Linked DNA regions of Homo sapiens: region 2 is linked to region 1. The links are contacts of gene promoters, found by promoter capture Hi-C in human tissues and cell types (Jung and others, 2019). All regions are on one chromosome and are shown on one strand. The core of a region is centred on a gene start or on the middle of the fragment in contact, and the rest is flanking DNA. Distances in the headings are between cores, read along the strand shown. Region 1 holds the start of C1orf116 (chromosome 1 open reading frame 116). Region 2 overlaps CR1 (complement C3b/C4b receptor 1 (Knops blood group)).

Region 1 (5,619 bases), core at 2,318-4,817:
AGGGGCAGAACACTGGGGGGAAAACAGGAGAGATCCCTAGTGAGCCAGACATCTGGTTCATAGGGGTCCAGATCCTCCTAGGAGATAAGGAGGGGACTGGAGGGGCAGAGACACCAAAGAAGCCCAATGATAAATAAATGTGGGGTGAGGAAGCTCTTAGGGTTTCTTCATGAGGTTAGCTCCCCAATACCCAGAAGCTCAAAGAAACAGGAACATGAGAAATCATGTGGATGAAGTTCAGTCATCTCAGCTACCCACTCCATGAATGATGCCCAAGTTCAGGGAGGACTAACCCATTCCTAACATTGTGTAGGGTTGAGGCCACTATAGCAAAGGAGCTCCATCTCTGTGAGTCTAGGCACACAGAAAACACTCAAAAAATGCCGAATGAATGAACTTGCCATCTGTTCTAGGGTCTATTAGGTTGAGCTTTTGGAAGGCTTCTTCTTGGTTTCTAACCTATAACTGTCAGCTTTTACTTAAATACTTAATTTCCTGGATAATATATGGCTCAGTGAAATTTGGGCAATGTTTTCAGTTAAACTAACATTTATGAGCACCTAATAATAGGCGCTGGTGTTACAAAACTGTATAAGACAAAGGCATTGTTGTCAAAAAGTCAATGTAGATCTAAGGGTCTAGTTTTGGGCTCCAATTTTCTTCTCTGTAAAATCAGGGCAGTAAATATTTAAAGTGACTCACTGTAATTAACATCATATTCTCTATGAATGGGTGAGCAGATGCTGCCTCTTACTTTCAGAGAAAATTACTACCCTTGTGCTTCTAAGTATGCTTTAGACTTTACAGAGGTTTTCTAGTCTCTCTTTCCTACCAGGGAAGCTTATCACACTTTTGTTTCAGAACCTAGGATGTCTTCAAGTAGCTGGAAGAGATAAAAGTGGTAGGAAAAGCACTGCTTCACAAGAACACAGCATGCCATAGCTTGCAAAGTACTCTCAGATATGCTAATTCGATCTTCAGCATAAACTGGAAACATAGGCAGGATGTGACGTTTTCTTCATTTTACGGGTGAGAAAGTTATGGCTCTTACCACTAGCCCTTCCTAAGGGAAACAGGGAATGACCTATACATGCATATACAGGGCAGCCCTCCACAGGGCATTTCAGGGACTATCTGGATGCAAGAGGGGCATGCCCCCGAGAATGGTTACTAGCCACCCCTGACTAAAATACTAAAAGCCTTAAAACCCCCTTCTCCTTCTACTTCATACCTTAAACCCTGCAAATCATCTGCTTCAGCTTTATACTTCCAGACCAGTGTATTGCCCCAACAGCAGATATTTCTACAGTAAAGAAATGACACCAACTGCCAAGGAAGATCATGTCTTTAGGGATTACATAATCCCTGCACAGAGGAATCTGAACCTGAAACCAAAGCTGAGCGAGGCGCTGTCACCTCATCTCCATACCTAGTTTTCTGACCTAAAGAATCTTAATGGTGAAAGCTGCATTTCCTTTCACCGACTTCACAACCTTGAACCTTGGGGCTCTTTCAGGGCAGCCATCGAAACCCTGATAAGAAGACTGAGAAACAAACAAAACACTCAAGGTGAGAGTTTGGTATCTTAACCCTTGACCTCTTTGGGAACTTAACGGGAGGAGGGAATGGGTTAAGAAATATGCAGCACCTATAGTCAGGGCCACCCATCCAAAGACACATTAAATATTAACTACACCACTGACTAAAATACTAAATACTGCCAAGCCTTGGAGGAGAGGAAATAAAGAACAGTTCAAGTTCTGGCATCTGGAGATGGTGGGGTGGGGAGAGGGCTCCAGCTCCATTCCAGGTTGGCTTGTCTGTACCTTCTAATCAGACCCAGGTCCCTCTCATCCTCCTCCCACGAACCCCCCACATGTCCTCCAAGAGCTTTGCCTCTCTGCCTACTAGTCAAAGAGGTTTCCTGTCTTTCAATCCAGGTGTCTTTGCTTCTTGTTGACTACCCAGAAATGTGCCTTGGGCTGGAAAATATCCTAAGAAAAATAGCAGAATGACTAAAACTTGCACAGTTTGCATATCTGTCTCCATGAACACATGGGCAAGTTTCTGTGTGTGTTTAGGCAACATTATCATCTTCCCTTTCACCAGTGTGTTTGAGGGAAGGAGCAGGTAGAAATACCCTCTGCATAGCAGAGCTTTGTTAGACACTGCCAGTGGTCTTTATTCCTAAATTCACCATCTAGGGCAGCCCTCAGTCTGTGAGTGTGGGGTGTTGGCTCTGTGGTGTGAGGTGAGCTCAAGCCTAAATCTCCAGTTGCCAGGACTGGAAAACCCATATATTCACTCAGGGCTGCGTGTGCCAGGCCCTTGAGCCTGGCACTGAGGGCTTCCCACTTCCCTCTTCTCTGCAGCAGGAGGAAAAGAGTCAAAGTTAGGGACCAAAGGGTTAAACCCCCCAAGATGGATAATGGAGAGGCAACTTGCTACTCTGACTCGACTCCTACATCTGCCTTCCTTCTGCAGGTAAATCTGCCACACAAACTGCCAACTGGGACACCTGCAGGAAAACAAACAAAGCCACCACCCTGGTCTGCTTCTCTGTCTGTGGACTCTGCCACACTACCTTGGCTTGAGCCCCACTTGGAACTCTAACTAGACTTGACATGCAGCCACGAAATATTCATGTGGGTGAGGCTCGGCACAGCCAGGTAGCTTTCTGTTTGCCAGTCTCTGTGTCTATTAACAGGCTGAGTCAGAAAGTTAATTGAGTAGAATCCAAATAAACTTGACTTTGCAGCTAGATTATCCATGGGTTTTCCAAAGATGAGCTGGTAGCTGAAGTTTTCTCCATGTGCCCCAACCTCATATCCCTTTACAAACAACCTAGTACAGCTCATGCCTAACACACCTGTACACAGAGAGCTCCATTATCACATGAGCATGATCAAACACACACACACATTGCACCCATTATTTAAATAAAGATCGACACCGAGTTGGTAAAGCCACGGGAGAATTTCCTGTTACAGTCGCTATGGAAAACCAAGATACTCTCCCCCATTTTGACTCCCTCTATTTCAACTGTTCTTTTCTAAAATCACAACTCAATTTCAATTGTTCAGAGATGGAAATTTCCAAAACAAATCTATTTTCTTTTTCTTGTTGTTTGCACAATATGCCTATCCAACCTAAAGGGATAAATGAAAAAGAAGGTGCCTCCCAGCCCCAGTCTCCACAAAAACACTACAATCTCAAGTTGCTACCAACCTGATCTGATCCCAGAATGGACTCAGAGAATTGAGGAACAGAGAGGAAATCTCCCTAGCTGGGGTATAGAGGGACACCTCCCCTCCCCTGTAGCTCTGATTTCCCATGAAACCCCTTCCTATTGCTATAGGATAAGCAATAGTTGGTTAGTGATTAACTCACCTCCACTGGGTTGGGGGCTGAAGAGAGAAAAGAAATACCCTTTTGTTTCAAAGGGCAGAGATGGAGACAGAGGCTGCTTCCCCTGCCTCCTACTGTTTTCTTCTCCTTTTGAGCTCCTCCTGACTTACCTAGATAGGTAAATGCTTCATCTGTGCTGCCTGGCCCCCACCCTGCCACTGACTCAGCCAATCCTAGCCTCCCCTCCCTACCTCTCATTCCAGCTGTTTCCTCAGGGAGGGAATGGGAGGGGAATGAGCAGGGTGGTGCTGTTCCCTCTTAGCCAATCATCTCCTACCCTCCCCTTTCCTGTTTAGAGCTAATAAAGAGCTCTTTAAAAAAGGAGGGCTGGAAGGAGGAGGAGCCGGTTTGGGCTGAGACTGGAAGGACAGGTGGCAGGGAGGGAGTAGGCAGAGATAGTATATATATTTAATGTTGATATAAAGGAACGCAGACAGTCCTCTGGGCAGTGTGCTTTTCCATAGGTCTATGTGAAACAGGTTTTTCATCTAGAACTACCTTCTTCCGCTTGGAGCTTAGTTTTCCCCTGAATTCTCTAGGCTAAACTCATTTGTGTTCAGTTTTGCTGCTAGCTTTTCTAGATGTTGAAAGTCACTTTCTTCCCCAAGCCTAATCCTAGCTCATAAGCCTAGCAATTCCATTCATGTCCACTGAAGAAGGTGTCCCCAGGCTAGGGATGCTGTAGTTGGGCCAGTCTCGCCCCAGTGCTTGCCAACAATCTCCTTGGCCTAATTTATTTCTGGGGGAAATAAAACCATTCATCCCCTAAGAGGTCCGTGTCCTGATGAAAGAGTGACTGGACAGCTTGAAAGGAGAGAGCATGCACTCTGTCATTTGGTCCTCTGCTCTCTTTTGGCTGTTCATGGAAGGTGGCAATACATATTATGAAATAAAAACAAAACAAACTACCAACCAGTTTAGCAACTCTTGTCTCCTTTCATGGACTGATACTTGGCATTCGTAGGGAGAAGAGAGTAGGTAGAAGAATCTACTATTTTTGGGAAGAAATTTCCCACCAGGTACAGAGACCACTCTTAACAGATATGATTTTTGCCTGGAAGCTGGTTTTTCCTACAGGTAGATTATCCTTGATAGGTATCAGGATTTGAGGTATTCCACTTACTAGCATTAAAAGGTCAGGGAGAAAATTTAAAATCAATGTACACAATAATTGCCAAAATGTATTAAGCTCTTGCTATTTGCTAGGTATTGTGCTGAGCATTTTCATGTATCTTTTAATTTAGTCTTTAACTTAAAAAAGTAGGCATTTGTTAATATCTAAATTTTACAGGGAGGTTAAAAATCTTTTTCAAGGCCATGTAGCTAGGAAGAGGCAGGGCAGAGATTTTAATTCAGGCAGTATAACATCAAGGTTGCTATGAATCAGCATAATGCCAATCCGCCTCTATTTTGGAAGGAATCTCAAGTGGGAATCATGAAATACACAGATAATTTGCAAGTGTAATTCTAGCTATTAGATTCGTCCTTTTCTGTTTCATTTCCTACTTAAAGCTATTAATATGTTTTATAACAAGACGACACATGGCTTTCATCTTTTCTCTTTCTGTGATCATGGTTGGATAGGAAATAAAAAGGGCAGTGATCCTGGGGCCAAGGTAAAGATGAAGTGGAGCAGGACTAATGGATAGGAAGGAGGTTGGAGGAAGCCTGGGATAACCCAGTACCCTATCAGCAGCCTATGGATATCACAGCTGAATGAGCACTTCGGGCTATGACCTCTTTCCCTGGTGTGTCATTCAAACATATATGATGTCATAATACTAACAAAACAGGAAGGGCATCTCCAAATCAGCAGTTCAGTGCAACCAGAGTCACACCCATGGATGAAGTCAATGAAGTTGATCCAGCTCCATAGGTGTGTGATTTGAACATTTGCTAAAAAAATGAATTGACTTATGAGAATTAACTTCCAAGAGGATAGTAGGCAACAGTCTTATTTGTGAACAGACACAGTTTTTCAGTTATAATAAAATTAGGATAACTAGGAGGAACCCCTATCTTTTACCAGGTAGAAGCAGGGACATAGACAAAAATCATCTTTCCCTTCCTCCCTTTCCTCTCAAAAACTTTTTCTTTTTGTAAATTATGAAATATTTCAGATACACTGACATAACAAACATAACCGTACCTAACATCCAGTTCAGGAAATAAAACATAAACATCACAGTCGAAGTTACTTACAAGCCTTGA
Region 2 (5,763 bases), core at 914-3,413, 600 kb after region 1:
ATTATCCTTGCTCCAAAGTTACATTATAAACTAAATTCCTTTCATGGTTAGCTTGGCCTACACCCAGGAATGAGCAAAGCCGGCCCACCTGTGAGGCTAGAAGCAAGATGAAGTCAGCCATGTTAGATTTCTTTCACTCTCAGAATCTTTGCAAAGGTGGTTTCAGCATAGTGAGTGCATTTATCTAACAAAACACCACTGATTTTCATGTTAGAAATAACACATAGCTAAAACTGGGAAAAAGAAGTAATAAACTTAAATAATCAGAAGGCAGAGGTCCCTTCTTTCGGAAGGAGTTGGGCTGATTAATCATGCAGTCATACCTCCTTGAGTGGGTGTGGCCAATAAGCTAAGTCATTGTGGCTATGTGAGGAGGGCTGATTATTCCTTATCTGGAGCTCAAGCTTTCCTCACAGAAAGACAAGGGCATAAAGGGCCTCATGGCAAAGAAGAAGGAAGCCATGTGGGAAACACAGAATATGAGTGGAGAGTATCGTAGTGGTCACCAAGTCAGAAGAGCCATTTATCCTGGAGCTAAAAAAGACTGACAGATATAGAATAGTGTAGAACAAGATGGCCTGCTCTATGGGAGAGCCACAGTCACACCAGGCCTAGAGAGGTGCAGGCTGACTTCTACCTCAAACACTGGAGACAATTCAGAAGCTGCATAAGCAGTCTGAAGACTTACTAAGAAACTAAAATGAGGCTGGGTGCGATGGCTCAGGCCTGTAATCCCTGCACTTTGGGAGGCTGAGGCGGGTGGGTCACCTGAGGTCAGGAGTTGGAGATCAGCCTGGCCAAGATGGCAAAACCCTGTCTCTACTAAAAATACAAAAATTAGCCTGGTGTAGTGGCACATGCCTGTAGTCCCAGCTACTCAGGAGGCTGAGGCAGGAGAATTGCTTGAACCCAGGAGGTGGAGGTTGCAGTGAGTTGAGATTGTGCCACTGCACTCCAGCCTGGGCAACAAAGGCAAAACTCCATCTGAAAAACATAAATAAATAAATTAAATAAAATAAAACAAGAAAAGAAACTAAAGTGATAGAGAAATAGAAGGAATACACACACAGAAATGATCTCACCTTCTTTAAAATGCTCCTCAAGGAGGTCTACTTTAACTATCCTAGTAAAGATGACATGACCCCACCCCCACATTCCTAGTCTCTCTTATCCTGCTTTATTTTTTTCATAGCCTTATTCTCTTTTATTATAATTAATTAAATAATTACATTCCATGTTTATTCTCTCTCTCCCTCCATGAAGTCGGGGATTTTTGTCCTATCTTCACCAATGGATACACAACAAATCTAAACTGTCCCTGGGACAAAGAGAGTCTCAATAAATATTTATCAAATGAATGAGTGAGCTACACACCACTAACAGTGTTACCACAAGGGGAAATTTCTGCCGTAATTCTCTACCAAGTTGAACAGTGCGTCTTTAACTTGTCCTAAACTTACTCCAGGTTTCAAGGCTGCTCCTTGTTCTAATATACCAACTGTCTCAGTCTGTTGGTATATATACTTGGGCAGTTATAACAGAAACTCCATAGACTGGGTGGATTCAATAAGCATTTAAGCTGGGTGCAGTGGTACCTGCCTATAGTCCCAGCTATCTGGGAGGCTGAGGCAGGAGTACTGCTTGAGCCAATGAGTTTAAGGCCAGCCTGGGCAATATGGTAAGACCATGTCCCTAAAAAACATTATGTCATTTCTAAAAACCAAGCATTTTTTTCTCATAGTTCTAGTGGGTAGAGAGTCCAAGGTCAAGGCAACTGCAAATTCAGTGTCTGGTGGGGATCGCTTTCTAGTTAATAGACTTCAATCTTTTCTCCGTGTTCTCAAATCAGAGAAAAGGAGTAAAGGAGCTCTCCTGGTCTCTTTTCTAAGGGCACTAGTCCCATTCACAAGGGCTCTGCTCTCATGATCTAATTACTTCTCAAAGGTCTCACCTTTGAGATCCTATAGTAATTAGATCCTATAAATTTTCAACATATAAATTTGGAAAGATACAAACATTCAGTCCATTGTACCAACACTGCATTTGGTAAGCACATATGCTTAAACGATATCACACTTGATTTCATGTGCCTTCTCAATCCTCAGCTTTCCCTGATTAAGAATACCTAATTACTCTGCCCATTTCCTCTGCACCCTCCACCTTGGCCTTTCCACTCACTATTACTACTATCTCCTGCCTTCTTGGTCTCTACTATTCTCCTCACCATCCCTGCTCCCTGGACTATGATCCCCTGTGAGCAGGGACCACCTATATCCACCCAAAGCAATTTTTATTTAATGATTTTTTAATCTCTACTTGTACAGCAGTCAAAATTAATAATAAGAGTAGAAATGGTTAATGTATCTACAAAAAGAGTTAACATGTTTATTTATAGGTTTATTTACCATTTATTATCTTCTTTGGTCCTCAAAGCAACTCTGTGAGGTAGGTAGGCCCAATCATATTGTTATCCCAAAGCATAAAACACTCTAGGTTCAAAGAAATTCAGTGGCTTGTTTAAAGCCAGTAGGAAGTTGTTAGGAATTAGGCCTTTAGTCCAGATTATTTAACTGGAAATCTTGAACTCTTTGTGCTAGTATTTTGACAATGTTAGTTGCCATTTCTGAATCTGACTCTATATTACTGAAATTCAGTATCCAGAACTGTACATAGTACAAACCTAAAGTATTTTCCTTTTTTCTTTCAATATTCTTTTTCTCCCTATATTTTACTGAGTTTGTTTTAGCTACTTTGGTATATTGAACCAGTATCTTTCTAGAGAACCGTATGCAATCTCTACTTTTTTTACTCTTTATTCTGAGTCATTAGGCTATAAAAAATTAAGGTATTTCTTTAAGGGCATCTTTCCATATTGAGATTTCCTGGCGTTTCACACAGACTTGGCAAGTTCTTCCTGTGATTTAATCTCACTGCCTTGTTATTTCACTAGTTAAAAATATGCGCCTGCACGTTTTGATATTTCACTGTGTATTTACAACAATAATTTGTGATAATGTTAAATAAGATAGGTCATAAGATAGGTCATGCACTCATCAGTGAGGAATAATACTGGTTAGACTTCTTCATTCAGAGCCCATTATTGCCTCTTGTTACTGCCTCGTACCCACTCCCATTTCTACACAAAACAGCCTTGTACACAGTCAAAATTTCAAAGTTTCCATTGTTGTGATGTTTAGAATGATAAAATACTTAAGGCCATCCTCTGTGAAGTCTCCCTGAATTTTCCTATGTTCACATTAACCACCAGTAACTAACCAAATAGCTCTTCATTCAACATATACTCACCGAGATCATATTCTCCAAAACCCCATGTACCACTCATCACCCAAGACCACCTTCAGAACACTACTCATCTTACCACTTAACCACCACTCCTTGGAAGGTCATACCACCTGGCTATATACCACTCCACTCTTCCTCATCCATGGATCTCAAGTGTGCCTTCCCTGTCCTGTGAAAACTCTGCCCCCTGAAGCAGTCTGCCTCTTTTTCTCAAATGATGCTGTCATTCTAATTTCCATAAGATGGTAAAGAATAACTGAGTGATGAGGAAACAGTGGTACATGTTGAAGTGAGTTAACTCTTCAAGCTTCCATTCTAAAATCCCTAATACCAACTCATACATAAAATCTCCAGGTACTGGTACTGTTTTATCATTTCATTGATAAAAGATGAAGTGTTTATTAACCCCCAAAGAGGCAGTGTACCATACCAAGTGAGGGTGAGGGCTTTGCAACCGCTAAGGCCTGTGTTCACAGTCACTCACTCTCTATGAGACCCTGAGCAAGATACTTATCCTCAGTAAATTTCATTTTCCTTGCCTGTGAAATGGAGATAATAATAGTTCCTACCTTACTTAACATAGTGCCTCATTTATGATGCATGTCAGAAAATGTTAGCTATTATTTACACATGATTGTTATTACTGATATTAAAAAGTGAGTAAATATTTCTTTTTACTGTTAGTTCTTAAATACCTTCATGACAGCTACTGCTGCTCCCCTAACCGTGGATATTGCTTGTACAGAAAACAGAACACATATCTTCACTATAGGAGAAAAAGGAAGCCTCGTGTAACACTGCAGTGCAAAGTCATTCATGTTGTGCAGCTTAAGTGTCAAAATCTCGATGTAAATCCTATTTACTAATCAAAATTATGTCAGAAATAGTGAAATGTGTTAAGGCATGGACATCTGCCTATAAACAATTTAGAGTACTCTGACAGAAAATATAGGATGATTTTAGTATTATTTTCTAATCTAAGTTTTTGCTTAGTATTAAAAGATGAGATTTGGTTATGATTTTCCTTTCAGACGTCTTGCAAAGATATCAGGAACTTAAGGCAAATAATACCTTAAATTTCAAAATGCAAATTACTAATTTCTTTCAAAACAGATACTTAAATGATTAAGACAGTTTTTCTATTTTTTTCTCTGCCAATTAGCAATAATGCACATGAAAACCCTAAAGAAGTGGCTATCCATTTACATTCTCAAGGAGGCAGCAGCGTTCATCCCCGAACTCTGCAAACAAATGAAGAAAATAGCAGGTACCTATATACATACTGAATTCAAAATGTTTTCAACAACTCAAATATCAAAAATGGAAACAGGACTTGAATATGATATTGCACTAGGTAGGTCATTGATACCAAAGAATTTAGAAAGTACTTCAGGAGTTGGAAACTTCTTTTTTTTTTATTGGATTATTATTGTCATTTCCAATGTTTTGGGGTGATGACTCTATAAGTTAGTACAGTCACAGTCACTACTTTTTCAAAGCATTCCTATAATTTCCTGTATTTATGCTATGAAACTTTGAGAAGTAGTATGCTTTTTTCTTGTGGAACCCAAGAATTTGCTGCCTGCTTGTACCTCCAAGTCTTCCAGCTTCCCTTAAATGCACAGAGTCACTTTAATGTCCTCTAGAGACTTTCACTTTACCTCCCCAGCCACCAACCCCCTTGATTTCTGACTTCCACTGAATTCTCTACTTCATTTGGCCTCTTTGACTGCTCCTTCTTTTGGTCCTCATTCCCTTGGGCTTATTAAATACCTAACCTTTCATTCTACCTATTCAAAGCAGGCTTACTGCAAGCTGTTGTGCAGTACACATTGCTAAAGATTTGGGGTGAAAAGGGAAATTATACCATTATCAAAAGTGGTATGTATCAATATTAGAAATCACTGAACTGAAAAGTAACTAGTACACCAGGGACCTGAAAACTACCACCTGTGAGCCAAATCCAGCTGGCCACTTGTTTTTGTGAATAAAGTTTTACTGGGGCACAGCCACACCCAATCGTTTGTCTACTGTCTCTGGCTCCCTTTTATACTACAACAGCAGAGCTGAGTAGTTGCAACAGAGACCCCAAAAGCCAAAAGTATTTACTATCTGGCCCTTTAGTGGAAGACTTTGCTAACCCCTGAACTATATCATACTATGAGAAATTTCTCACTGGCTAGTTCCCCTTTTAACCTGGGCTTTCCATCCTCTTCCCAGGCCTCTCTCTCTCATTGGATACTCCTCTCTTTTGTTCAAATCTTTACTGCATTCTCAGGGTATGCAGTAAATACAGGCATTCAGACTCTCGGGCTTCTTGCAAATTCAAAACTCCATTTTTCTTTAAAATTCAGAGCAATTTATTTGGCTCTGGCTTACTTTGGCTATGCCCAAGAATCCTAAAATGTCCTACCCATAGGTGTTTGGAACATTTTCAGGAATAAGATCACCATATGCCCT

What was found. Contacts are between HindIII fragments. The study calls those that stand out against the background at their distance.
Region 2: a fragment that was not itself captured here is called in contact with the fragment with the promoter of C1orf116 in region 1 in 1 of the 25 tissues and cell types used here (spleen).

The regions. Positions count from the first base shown.
Region 1 is chr1:207,029,189-207,034,807 of GRCh38, forward strand. It overlaps C1orf116 (chromosome 1 open reading frame 116), which reads right to left and starts at 3,568. Exons shown (of 4, transcript NM_023938.6): 1 at 3,391-3,568. It also overlaps a transcript of PFKFB2 not described here. The HindIII fragment of the contact is 7,217 bases long and covers 1-5,619 here.
Region 2 is chr1:207,626,052-207,631,814 of GRCh38, forward strand. It overlaps CR1 (complement C3b/C4b receptor 1 (Knops blood group)), which reads left to right. Exons shown (of 47, transcript NM_000651.6): 46 at 4,466-4,570. Among named protein-coding and RNA genes, the nearest start is that of CR1L, 16 kb to the right of the region's middle. The HindIII fragment of the contact is 5,483 bases long and covers 1-4,905 here.